Regions from separate parts of the Homo sapiens genome. Here all the other regions are linked to region 3. Evidence: promoter capture Hi-C in human tissues and cell types (Jung and others, 2019). All regions are on one chromosome and are shown on one strand. Each heading gives the region's core, a stretch centred on a gene start or on the middle of the fragment in contact. The rest is flanking DNA. Distances are from core to core; before and after follow the strand shown.

Region 1 (2,700 bases), core at 12-2,511, 1.2 Mb before region 3:
AGAGAGGAGATTCAAAAGATGCTGGGGAGCTACAGACGTGACCTCTGACCTCTACATGAAGAATGGTGGAAAACACTTACTACTTAGTGTTAATCTACACATTTCACTTGGTTTAGACCTAAGCATAAATAGTGTGAAGTCGATTTAAACAGAGGTTACAGTTTCCAGAAACTTCAGCGCCGTGGCTGCAGTTAAACAGCAATGATTGGACTCTTTACGTCTACTCCATTCTCGATATGAATGAAAGTAGTCACATCAAATGCATATTTATTAGTCTTGGTCATTTTGAATTTGAGTCCTTTACATACTATGTATGTATGTACCCAGGAGCAGAGCAGGGTTAAAAGTGACATCTTCTAACTTCTACTCTGGAATTTTTTCCCTCTGCACTTTTTGTTGTCACGTAGTAGATGTTTTCACCCACATGCAGGTGAATGAGTGACATATTTATCTTGTTACATAGTGAAGCTTTCAATTCTTTAATTTTATCCCTCTAATGAAACTGTGAGGAATTGATTCTGTTGACACAGAAAAGGCTGGTGTCACATGAACCTAAAGGACGTCATTGAGCATGTGCCTCTCACGCAGAACTGACATAGAGCCTCCCGTGCAGCTCACCTTGAATTCTCCATGCACGAATCAGCCATAGGCACGTGTTATGTGTGGCACAGGCAAGAAGTGCCTGATAGATTTTAGTTCTGTTTATTGCTGGAAGCCCTTGCTGTAGGAAAAGGAAGGTTTTTTCCTTTCCTGGACAATGATTTTGAGCTACGGTGTAGAATGGAAAAGGCAGGCTTTGATTTGCCAGACACTGCTTGCTATGTGTGAAGCCGGGATAGGGCGGTGCTGTTGGACAGAAGACCTGCCCTGTGTGCCTTTTCACACTGCATTGAGAATTTGTCTAGATGATTTCCTGGGCTTATTGATTGTTGAAGGAAACAATGCAAATTGCAAGTTATGATCAAATAATGCTTTGAGTCTTCACCTTTTTAGAATGCTCTGGGAAAATACGGGGAGAAAATAAACCATAGGAAAGGCATTTTGAGGCGGTTTTGTTTTGTTTTAAACAGCTGCCATGAAATGCACCCTCTCTAAGAGGACAATTCAGTGATTTTCTGAATGTCTGAGTTGTGCAGACATCACCACTGTCTAGTTCTTGAACACTCCTGTCACCTCAAATGTTCCCTGTGCTTGTCTGCAGTTGATTCGCGCACCCAGCCCAGCCTCAGGCAACCGCTCAGGCAGCCTGCCTGCTGTTTCCACATGTGCCTTGCAGATATTTCATGGGAAGCAGCTCATGTCCTGTGTCATCGTTTGCATCAGGCTTTCACTTAACATGTTTTTCGGGTTCATCCGTGTGTTGTAGAACATATCAGTAATTTGTTCCTTTTAGTCGTATTGGCGTAGCGTGTTCGTTTATTCCACTCCAGCGATGGACTTTGGGTTGTTTCTGCATTCTGGCTATTATGAATCACGTGACTTTGAACATTAGCAAGCATGTCTGCGTGTGGATGTGTATTTTCATTTGTCATAGGTAGATTCCTAGGAGTTCGTAGGAGCTTCGAAATGGAGTTTAAGACAGAAGCCTTTGTTTGATACTGATAATGCTAGCAAGGGCCATTTATTTGGCTTGCTCTTGAAGTCTGTCTCTGTGATGTGCATTGTGCTTCTTGAATTGTATGAGCCTACTATAGGATGAAATATGGTTATAATGTCGAGCAGAAGCTATTAGCATTTCTTAAGCTGACCACCTGTGTTGTGCACACTATTAGGTCCTCAGCAGATGAGTTCTTACCGGGTGTTTGATGTTTTCCCCCCACTTATCAGAAGAGGAAGTCGGTGAAGTACGGTTGGGCATATTAAAACCACATTCAGCCTACAACACCACAGAAACACTTACCCTTTGACCCAGCAATTCTGCTTCTAGGAATCCTTCCAGAAGATAGACCTCCAACAATGTGAAAATACATTCGGAATAACCTAAATATCCATATGCAGGAGAGGGTTGAGTAAACTCTAGTACAGCCACACAACCACATCCACTGTTGAGGATGACCTCTGTGAATTGGTTTGAGGTGGTTTCCAGGGCACGTGGATGTGAATGAGGCAAGTACCAAAGAACATCTAAATGCTGCCCTTGATGTGAGAAGAAGGGGATGCAGGAAGACACACGCTCCCTGCACACTTGTGCAGAGGAGATACAGGAGGGCAGAGCCAGAAACAAAAGAGATGGTGACTGCAGAGGGCCAGGGGACGGAGGAGGAGTGGGTGCCAGGTCATAGGTGGGGTGCAGAGGGCGAGGGGGCAGGGAAGTGGAGTGGGTGCCAGGTCATAGGTGGGGTGCAGTGCTGCTCTCAGTACACCTTTTAGTGTGGCCCAGCTCTTGAAACCACAGCAATACTTCATATACTCCAAAGTAAAATAGATGGTTAATATCAGCCAGGATGTGGGGGACCCAAAATGAAATATAAGCGGAAAACACACATCTCACTGTAGTACAAAGCGGCAGGGCCACAGCAAAGGGGGTGGAAAGGAAAGTGTTAACCTTATTTGGGAAAATGATAATGTTGACTGGATTCTGTGAGGCTGAAGAGAACTGTACAAAATAGTAGTAAATTTTTTTCTCAGTGTTAATGGTGAGCAATGTGAAACGACTTTATGTGTATGTGGGGATTGAACAAATAAGCAGAATCGTAGTGG
Region 2 (2,851 bases), core at 127-2,626, 1.5 Mb before region 3:
GAAACACAAATAATCCTGCATCGGAATAAACATTCCATAAGGTCACAAAAAGAAAAGGTGCTCTACTATGCTAAACAGACACTGACAGAGCCTGGGCTAACAAGAGCTGAGAAAAGTATTAGCCCCTCAAGCTGGGCCCAGGTCAACCCTAATTGTAAGGGTCAGGAAACTGAAGTTAAGGTGGCACTATTCCCCACCACTAGTGGTCACCTGGAAACTCCACACACGGAAGCCAGCATGACATTGTGAAACAGGTCCAACCATGACACTCTCCAGCTTAGAACCTGCTGGATTTTCCCGCAGCCCACCAGGCCCTGGAGGCCCAGCCCCACAGGAAGCCACCCTCTATAAACACTGCCGGTTTCTGGAACTCTGAGTCTCCTGTCATGCACTTTCCTCCCCCAGCCCCCGCGCCCTCACTGCTTCTTTCTTGGTCAGCCTCCCGGGGACTCAGCTCCTCTTGGATAGGAGCTCTGGCTGTCGGTCACCACTGTGGCCGCAGGGCCTGGTGCAGACGGGATAAACGATGAAGAATGCCACCTGCGCGTCTGGACAGCGTAGAACCGCAATCAGCTTGCTTCAAAATCAGATGCTACAGCCTGGCTTTGGGGACGCCTTCCTTTCTAAGGCATAAGTGCGAGCGTTCGCTGCTGTGCGTGGAACTGCGGCCGGGAGGGAGTGGCGGCGTGAACGCCGGCGGCTGTAGAGACACACCGGCCGCGGCCCCATCACCCTGCAGGGGCCTGCGGCCGCCATCCCGGCCTGCCCCCGACCAGCTGTGCGACCTCGAACACGTCGTGAGCCGGCTTCCCGGCTCGGGATCGAACCCGAGGAGTGCTGTTTGGGGTCGCAGTGAGGCTAAGGGAGGCCGCAGGTGCCAAGCGTCCCGCCTGCCGGGCGAGGGCCAACCCGAGGCCACGCGCGAGGAGCGGCCGCAGCGACTGGACAAAACAAAGACAAAGACAAAGACGGCTCTTCCCCTGCCCGCGCCCCAGCCGCGACGGCAGCTCCCGCGGCCGCCAAACGGGCGTGACCCTCGAGGAGCCTCCGTCGGGGCGCTGCCTGCGACCGTGGGCCCAGGCCGCCCGCCGAGCCCAGCGCCCTGGCCGAAACCCCGACCCCGACCCCGACCTGGACCCACCAGCCGCCCCGCCCCCTTCGCGGCCCCGCCCGCCCCGGCGCCCTCACCAGCTCCGGGAGGCTCCTGCGCGGCGGCCACCGGGATGAGCAGCAGGAGCAGCGCGGCGCCACCGAGGCGCAACCTCCAGTACGGCGTCGGCCCGCGGGCCACTCCGGGCGCCATGGTCGGCCGGTCGCTCTATCAGTCAGTGGAGCGTTACAACTCCGACTCCAGCACAAGCGGTCTCCGCCCGGAACAGCCGCGGCGCCGGAAGTGGACCTGCGAGGTGGGGCCATGCGAGTGCGCAGCCTCAAAAAGCAGCTCGCCCCGCTCCCTCGCCATCTGCCCCGCCCCTCGCCAACGGGCTCGCCTCCCGGCGCGGCTGAGGTTCAGTGCGCCTGCGCGATAGAGGAAAGGAGCCTGGTAGCGAGGAGAGCGGCTGAGGCTCAGTGCGCCTGCGCGGCGCGGATGGGCGAGGCGTGACCGAGGGGCGAGGCGTGACCGAGGGGCGAGGCGTGACCGAGGGGCGAGGCGTGACCGAGGGGCGAGGCGTGACCGAGGGGCGAGGCGTGACCGAGGGGCTCGCCGCGGCTCCTGCGCCTGCGCGGCGGGGAACGGCGACCGGCTGAGGGGACTAGGGGAGCGCGGTGCTTCGGTGGCGGAGGTCACGGTGGCCTCCATCCTAAAGGGCTGCGGGCGTCCCGGACGGCGGTCCCAAGCGCTGCTCACGCTGCTCTTAAGTGAGCCCTGGACGAGGCGCGGTGGGCCCTCATAGTCCGCGCCGGCGCCCTCGCTCCACACCGCGGCGTCCGGCCCTGGGCTCCCGCCGATGTCCGCGTGGGACTTTTAGGGGATTTGTTTATTTTTGTACGTTAACCACACTAGAAACGGCCCCAGAATGGGCTGAAACGTGTGCTGCTGAAGCTGCCACCTAAACTCCCGAGAGAAGCGCCGTTTCTCCTCCATGGCTTCTCGCCGACGCCCTCGCTGCGGCCTTCCGGGCCCCTCGGTTGATAAAAGGACTAAATAGTGACGGACATTTTTAAGGCTACTTAAGAAATGGCAAAAATACATTTAGAGGTGTGAACCCGAACACACTGCGCGCTTTAAGCCCCGCGAGAGCCGGGGCCGCCCGCTTCTGTGCGCCCGTAGCTCCTTTCTCGGGTCCGGGATTCGCCGGTGCCGGGGACAGAAACCTCCTGCCTTCTTAGTTCATGACCCTTGTAGATGAACTTCCCTGTTTTCTGCACTGCTTAGACCAGAAGACGGGAAACCGTGACTGCCGCACCCTTCCCTGAAGCAGGCACTGCCCGTCGTCCATCAAACGCGAGGACTGCGCCCACCTCGTAGGAAGGACGCCGCGGTCCTGCTAAAAGCCTCCGCCTCTGCCTGCCCGAGGGCACCCTTCCCCTCCCCGCTTCCGAGGGCGGACTCCATTCCTCTGGAGCCGGTGTTTCCGGGTGGGCCAGCCTCCAACTGCCTTTGAATAACCCCCCCTTACATTAGATTCTGACCCTGTGGTGATTTTAGGTTGGGATTTGGGCGCCTGCAGATGGCTCCGAAGCCAGCCTCTTGTGATCCGAGCCACTTCTCTGGCACTCGGAGCGCTGGCACCCGCGGAGCGGCCTTGGTTCACCGGACCGCCTGGGAACCTGGCCGGGGTCTCTGGCAGCCTCCCAGGGCTGAGGTTCAGACTCTGTTCCGCCTACCCAGGTCCACACCTGATAGGGC
Region 3 (2,743 bases), core at 236-2,735:
ACACAGTCTAGGCAAACCTGGGCACATCCCCTCAGTCCCACAGTTGTAAATGTATTGTAACACGTAACAGTTGTGAGATTCAGGCGCGGTCTGGGTCTCTGTTCCTGGAAAGTGTGATCCTGTGGGTGCAGCCCCTGCTCGCTTGGCTGTGTTGCCTGCCTGGCCCCTGCTCTAATGAGCCCACTGCCCAGAGTTTGCTCAAACCACCCAATTCCGAGTCTGGGAACCAGGAGACCGCTGGACACCCCGCTCACCACACAGAAGACTGTGGCCTGAGTCAGGAGAAGGAAGTTTCTGGCGGTCGAGCTTCCACGGCTTCCTGAGGGAGGTTGCAGGGAGCCGAGATCGCGCCATTGCGCTATAGCCTGGGCGTCGCAGCGAGACTGTCTCAAAAAAAGAAAAAAAATTCTGAGCGAGATTCCAGGGCTTCCTGAGGGCGCGTTTAAGTTGCAGTTGCTGAGGAGGCTGCAAGGTGAGCTTGCGTCAGCGAGGAGCCACTCCAGCACGCTCGGGAAGGGCATCGTTACTGCTGCAAACAAGCACACGGCCCTCCACGACGAACCTTTTGCAAGTGAAGGCGCACGAACAGGCCCGGAGGACTACAAAGAAACCCAGAAACCAGACTTGGACACATGAAATAAAGGGGTTAGCTGAAGGAATACTCCACAGTTAAGGACGGCCTGCGCGAGGTCACCGGCCCTGTCTTGGTTTTTTGCCACTTCGCTCCAGTTAGTTTCCCAAGTTCCACCTACGCGCGCGCCAGCTGAGAAAACGCCCACCCCGGCGGTCCCGCCACAGGTCACAGGCGGTGCGGACCCCGGGACTGTGTCCGGGCTTCGGTGTCCAGAGAGCTCCAAGACACCCAAACCTTCCGTGGTTTCCACCTCTGCAAGCTTATGTTCCGCTGAGCTCAAGCTGAGGGACGACGACCTCATGCGACGTCAGTTTCCCCCTGGGACCACGAACCCACGGCCCCATTTCTCTTCTGTCTACTAAAAACCTTTTCTTTTCTTTTTTTTTTGAGACCTAAGACATCAGTGAGACACACGAGCAGACACGGGCTCGGTCGGGAAAGGCGGGAGCTCCAAGCGGCGGGGCCTGCAGGTCCAGGCGGTTCGCGGGCTTTCTGACCGCATTCGGCCGAGTTCTTCTCTGAAGACCCAGGACCCCCGGCCGAGGGGGCGCATTCGGCGGGCTGGTGGCGTAGGATTTTGTTTCGGGTTCCCAGGGTCCCGGCAAGGGTGAGGGAGCCCTTGCGGATCCCCTGAGATCCACCTCAGCAGCCTCCTCCGTGGTAGGCCTCAACTTCCCGCGGCGGCCCACAGCCAACGACTAATGCCTGAGCGGGAGAAAACGGCCTGGCCCTGTCCGGGTGGTTGCTGAGCACCGTTCGGCGCCGCCCGCGCCTGCAGGGAGCCCGGCCCGCTGTCCTGGTGGACACAAAGCCCAGGGGCCGCCCGCGCGGGACCAGCAGCGCGAACTTTTTGCCGCTCGGCCAGCCTGGCAGGGGATTTTAAAATCGGCCAATCACAGCGGGCGCCAGGCCTCCGCTTTCCGCTTACTGGTCCTGCCGTAGGAGGCGGGTACGTGAGCGCACCAATCTGTGGCCGGCGAGCGTAAAGGGCGGGGCTCCGCCCAGGCTGCACCGCCCAGAGCGCGCGTGCGCGAGACCGGAAACGCAGCCCCCTGATTGGCGGCGCGTGTCGGGGGCGGGGCCGCGGCTGCGTGACAGTTGTCGCGGGGGGAGGGCGAGCCCAAGCGCGGGGGAGGGAGTGTAAATAGAGCGAAGGCTGCTCTGTGTCAGCCCCGTCACCGCCGGGCGGCCCGCGCGGAGTCTGAGGGAGATGGAAGTTGAGCAAGAGCAGCGGCGCAGAAAGGTGGAGGCCGGGAGGACGAAGGTAAACATTAGGGGCTTCTTCTCTAGCTGCTCTGGCGTGAAGTCCTAAGGGCGGCTCCGGTGCCCGCCACCGCCCCCTGCCAGGAGAGGACGCGGTCCGGCGGAAGCCGCCGCGGAGGTCTCGCTTTTTCCCGCCGGCTCCGCTGGAAGCCGCCTCCTGGCCGCCGCCATCTTGAATCCGCCGCTCTCCGCCAGGTCCCGCCCCCGCCGCGGCCACAGCCAATCAGCGGCCGGGACGCGCGGCGCCTCTCGGGCGGGCCGGGGCGGGGCTGCGCCTGCGTCGGGGGGGGTGGGGCGCGGGCTGGGCGCGGTGCACGCCGGGGCGGGGTGTGGCTGCAGGGCGGGGCTACAGGGGCGTGGCGTGGCTGCACGGAGGGGGTGGGGCGCGGCAGGCGCTGGACCCCAGGCTGGATCTTCCAGTGGCTCCCGCGTCCTCCGGGACCGGGTGGCCTGGGGCGGGCGGCCGGTATTCGGGTGGCTGCTTGGTCTAGGGCCAGTTTCCTGCGCGGCCGGGGCCGGGGGCGTGGCGCGGGTGGCCTGCAGCGCCTCCCCAGGGTGCGCCTTCGCCTCGTCCGTCGGAGATGCTTTCCCCGCGCGTTTCTCGCGGCGTTGCAGTCCTTACTGTGTGAAAGGCCCCCGCGGCGCTCCCGGCCGCCGTCTTCTTCCCGCGCCCTTGGGCTCGCGTCCTGCCCGTCCGGGCCTGGCGTACGCTGCCGGGAACCCACGCGGCGCTGGCGCCGGGCGCCTTCAAGGGACGCGCTCCCGTCTTTCTCCCGCCCCGGGTTTCTCCGTGAAAAAGCGCTCGGTTTGATGGCCACTGTCCTAGGTTTCGTGGGAATAAAGCGC
Region 4 (2,988 bases), core at 267-2,766, 2.0 Mb before region 3:
CCTCCTGCCACTGGGGACATCTCTGCCCCTCTGCTTCCCTCGGAAGCTGGTTGTGAAGCCGGGCCAGTGGCTGCGGGGACAGCTCATGGCCCTGGAAAGACCCCACTGGCATGCGGCACAACATCTGCTCTGAGAACTGCAGGAAAAGGCCGGGCAGGGCACCCCTGCCATCCTGCCAGTGAAGTTTACGGGTCTCGGAATGAGTGTGGCCAAGGGGCAAAGGGGAGGAGGGAGAGGGGGAGGTGGGGTTGCCTGAGAGTGCCCGCCCCAGGACAGCAGCCCGTAGCTCAGCCCCAAGAGCCCGGCACCGAGCTTCGAGCTGCGTGGCCCCGAAGAGGGGCTCAGTCACCTAATGTGATGAGGGGACGGCAGAGCAAAGGCTTGTCTGACAGTGACCGTCGTGTGTAGTGGAGAGGACGTGGCCAGAGATCTGGTTTCAGGGCAGGGATGAGGGGGGATTCCAGTCAGATCTTTTGCATCCCAGCAACCCTCCCCTTGACACCTTTGGGGCAGTGGCAGGGGATGACCATGGATGACCTCATGAGAACACTGTGGGTGTCAGGGACTCAGGGAGGCCCCGCAGGGCTTGAACATGCTTATGTTTCTCATTTGTAAAGGGAGGGCAGTCATCCGGTGGCTTCTTGTGGCCTCGGTGATGAAGGCCACATCAGAGCCAGGGGGAAAGGATATGAGAGAAAAAGATTCATTTGAATTATTGTCTTTTTCCTGGAGTGGAGAGATGTGGTACTCCCCAAAACTTCCTTTCTAGGCTGGGCACAGTGGCTCACGCCTGTAAAACCAGCACTTTGGGAAGCGGAGGCTGGTGGATCGCCTGAGGTCAGGAGTTTGAGACCAACCTGACCAACATGGTGAAACCCTGTTGCTACTACATACAAAAAAAATTAGCAGGGTGTGGTGATTGGCGCCCATAATCCCAGCTACTGGGGAGGCTAAGGCAGGAGAATCACTTGAACCAGGGAGACCGAGGTTGCAGTGAGCCGAGACTGCGTCACTGAACTCCAGCCTGAGCGACAAAGTGGGACTCCGTCTCAAAAAACAAGAAGAAAAAGAAACTTCCTTTGTGGACAGTGAGGGCTATTTAAAAAAATTTTGGAATATGAAAGTAGTCACTGGTGTCTGGAAGCAGGAGCTGTGCAGAATTGTACAGTTGCGAAACCATGTCGCTGGCAGCTGGTGCTGGCGGTGGAGACTTCCCTGTGCGGTGCTCAGTGCAGCTGCACCCGTGGGGGAGGGAGCTCTTTCTCTGGCCCTGCAGTCACCTGAGGTTGTTACCATTATGAACGGCCGCTGGGACCCCCGCATGTGCATGTACTCCCCCAGAGTGTCCGGGGGCCCCAGCCAAGGGACACAGCTCAGGCAGCTGGGAACATGTGCAGGCTGATGAAGAGAACCGGATGAGGGCTTCACATGAGGAAGCATGTGGCCAGGTCCTCTCAGAACATCAGCCTCATCTTCCTGTCTCTGATCTATTTCAGCAACCACCCCATGTGTCTCTAGAACCCCAGTGTAGCGAGCTGGAGAGAGGACTGTCCTGAGGGCAGCAGGCCTGGTTGCAGCTGGCGTGGGGGTCTCAGAATGGAGCCCTCAGCCCTGAGGAAAGCTGGCTCGGAGCAGGAGGAGGGCTTTGAGGGGCTGCCCAGAAGGGTCACTGACCTGGGGATGGTCTCCAATCTCCGGCGCAGCAACAGCAGCCTCTTCAAGAGCTGGAGGCTACAGTGCCCCTTCGGCAACAATGACAAGGTAGGCTTTCTGCTGGTCAGCCTGCAGTTGGCACGTGGCCACGGAGGTCACCGTTGGGCAGGTCATAGCTTGAGGCTGTGACGACGGGGGTGGGAAAGGGTCTGCTGACCTTGGGGGCTCCTGCCCAACCATACCTTTGGGAGAACAGAACTGGGGAGGGTGATGCGTGTCTCGTCTTCTGTGGGTTGCATGACCATTTCCCATGGTTGGTCTGATTGGGAAATCACCGGGTTAACTCAAAAATGTTGCGCTAGAGTCCTGGAAATCTGTTACCCGTGCTTACCTTGTTGCATAATGATTTCACATCCTTTATCCGATTGGGAGGGCCTGGGCCTGGGCTAGCTTTCCCCAAAGCCCTGGATACAAAGACACAAGTATGTTGAAAGCACATGGCATCTTGCAGTCCCCTTGCCAGGCAGGCAGGAGGGTGGCTGCCCTTTTTCCGATGGTGCAAGATCCAGGTCCCCAGATCCCCAGCCTCCACGTTTTCCACCACACCATGTTGTTCCCAAGGAAGGTGGTGGTGCTGTAGAAACTGTAAAGTGCGCGCACATTCAAAATGGTCCCAAGAGGAAATGATTTCTTAGATTCATTCCTCCCTCCTGAATCCCCACCGGAGAGTCTTGGCAAGGTGCTTCTAATCTTTGGCTCAGGGTCGCGCAGGCTTCCTTCCTTCAAGCAAATAGTGTGAAAGCTCCTCAAGGAGCTCAGATGTGTCTCCAGGGGGCTGGGTGTGCTCTTTCGAATGTTGGAAGATCTCAGTGTGCTGTCTTTACCTTCAGCAAGAAAGCCTCAGTTCGTGGATTCCTGAAAACATCAAGAAGAAAGAATGCGTGTATTTTGTGGAAAGTTCCAAACTGTCTGATGCTGGGTAAGTGACGTGATTTGTGTGTAAGACCTCTGACTTCTTCCTTCCGATCCCACATGGAGTAGCTGATCAGGCCAAGACCCCTCAGGGCCTCAGTGAAGGGTCACTGGAGATACCTCTGTCTCCATACGAGGCTTAGAGTCCACAGAGCATTTCCACCTAACCCTTGCAAGCCTCCTGTCGGGGACAGTTGACCCTCATCCTGCCTCGCAGGTGCAGGGACCAAAGTGCAGAGTTTAGGTGACTTGTTCAGGGTCATAAGGGCACTGTCGCGCGGCGAGGCCCAGTGGTGTGAACACAGATGCATCCTCTAATCCTCTCATTTCCACACCTGCCCCCACCCCAAGAGAGAGAGTCCC

What was found. Contacts are between HindIII fragments. The study calls those that stand out against the background at their distance.
Region 1: a fragment that was not itself captured here is called in contact with the fragment with the promoter of C21orf58 in region 3 in 1 of the 25 tissues and cell types used here (lymphoblastoid cells).
Region 2: a contact is called between the fragment with the promoter of PTTG1IP here and the fragment with the promoter of C21orf58 in region 3, in 1 of the 25 tissues and cell types used here (lymphoblastoid cells).
Region 4: a contact is called between the fragment with the promoter of TRPM2 here and the fragment with the promoter of C21orf58 in region 3, in 1 of the 25 tissues and cell types used here (dorsolateral prefrontal cortex).

Annotation. Positions count from the first base shown.
Region 1 is chr21:45,085,284-45,087,983 of GRCh38, forward strand. The region is part of intron 1 of ADARB1 (adenosine deaminase RNA specific B1); the gene reads left to right. Among named protein-coding and RNA genes, the nearest start is that of ADARB1, 12 kb to the left of the region's middle. The HindIII fragment of the contact is 5,819 bases long and covers 1-2,700 here.
Region 2 is chr21:44,872,314-44,875,164 of GRCh38, forward strand. PTTG1IP (PTTG1 interacting protein) reads right to left here and starts at 1,377. Exons shown (of 6, transcript NM_004339.4): 1 at 1,189-1,377. The coding sequence starts at 1,303. RefSeq lists enhancers at 498-998, 999-1,499, 1,657-2,334 and a silencer at 1,091-1,740. The HindIII fragment of the contact is 14,261 bases long and covers 1-2,851 here.
Region 3 is chr21:46,322,385-46,325,127 of GRCh38, forward strand. It overlaps C21orf58 (chromosome 21 open reading frame 58), which reads right to left and starts at 1,486. Exons shown (of 8, transcript NM_058180.5): 1 at 255-1,486. The coding sequence starts at 354. PCNT (pericentrin) reads left to right here and starts at 1,772. Exons shown (of 47, transcript NM_006031.6): 1 at 1,772-1,898. The coding sequence starts at 1,845. RefSeq lists an enhancer at 1,015-1,154 and silencers at 1,505-1,834, 2,105-2,564. The HindIII fragment of the contact is 24,092 bases long and covers 1-2,743 here.
Region 4 is chr21:44,352,105-44,355,092 of GRCh38, forward strand. TRPM2 (transient receptor potential cation channel subfamily M member 2) reads left to right here and starts at 1,517. Exons shown (of 32, transcript NM_003307.4): 1 at 1,517-1,761; 2 at 2,544-2,632. The coding sequence starts at 1,597. RefSeq lists enhancers at 1,733-1,782, 1,943-1,992. The HindIII fragment of the contact is 21,861 bases long and covers 1-2,988 here.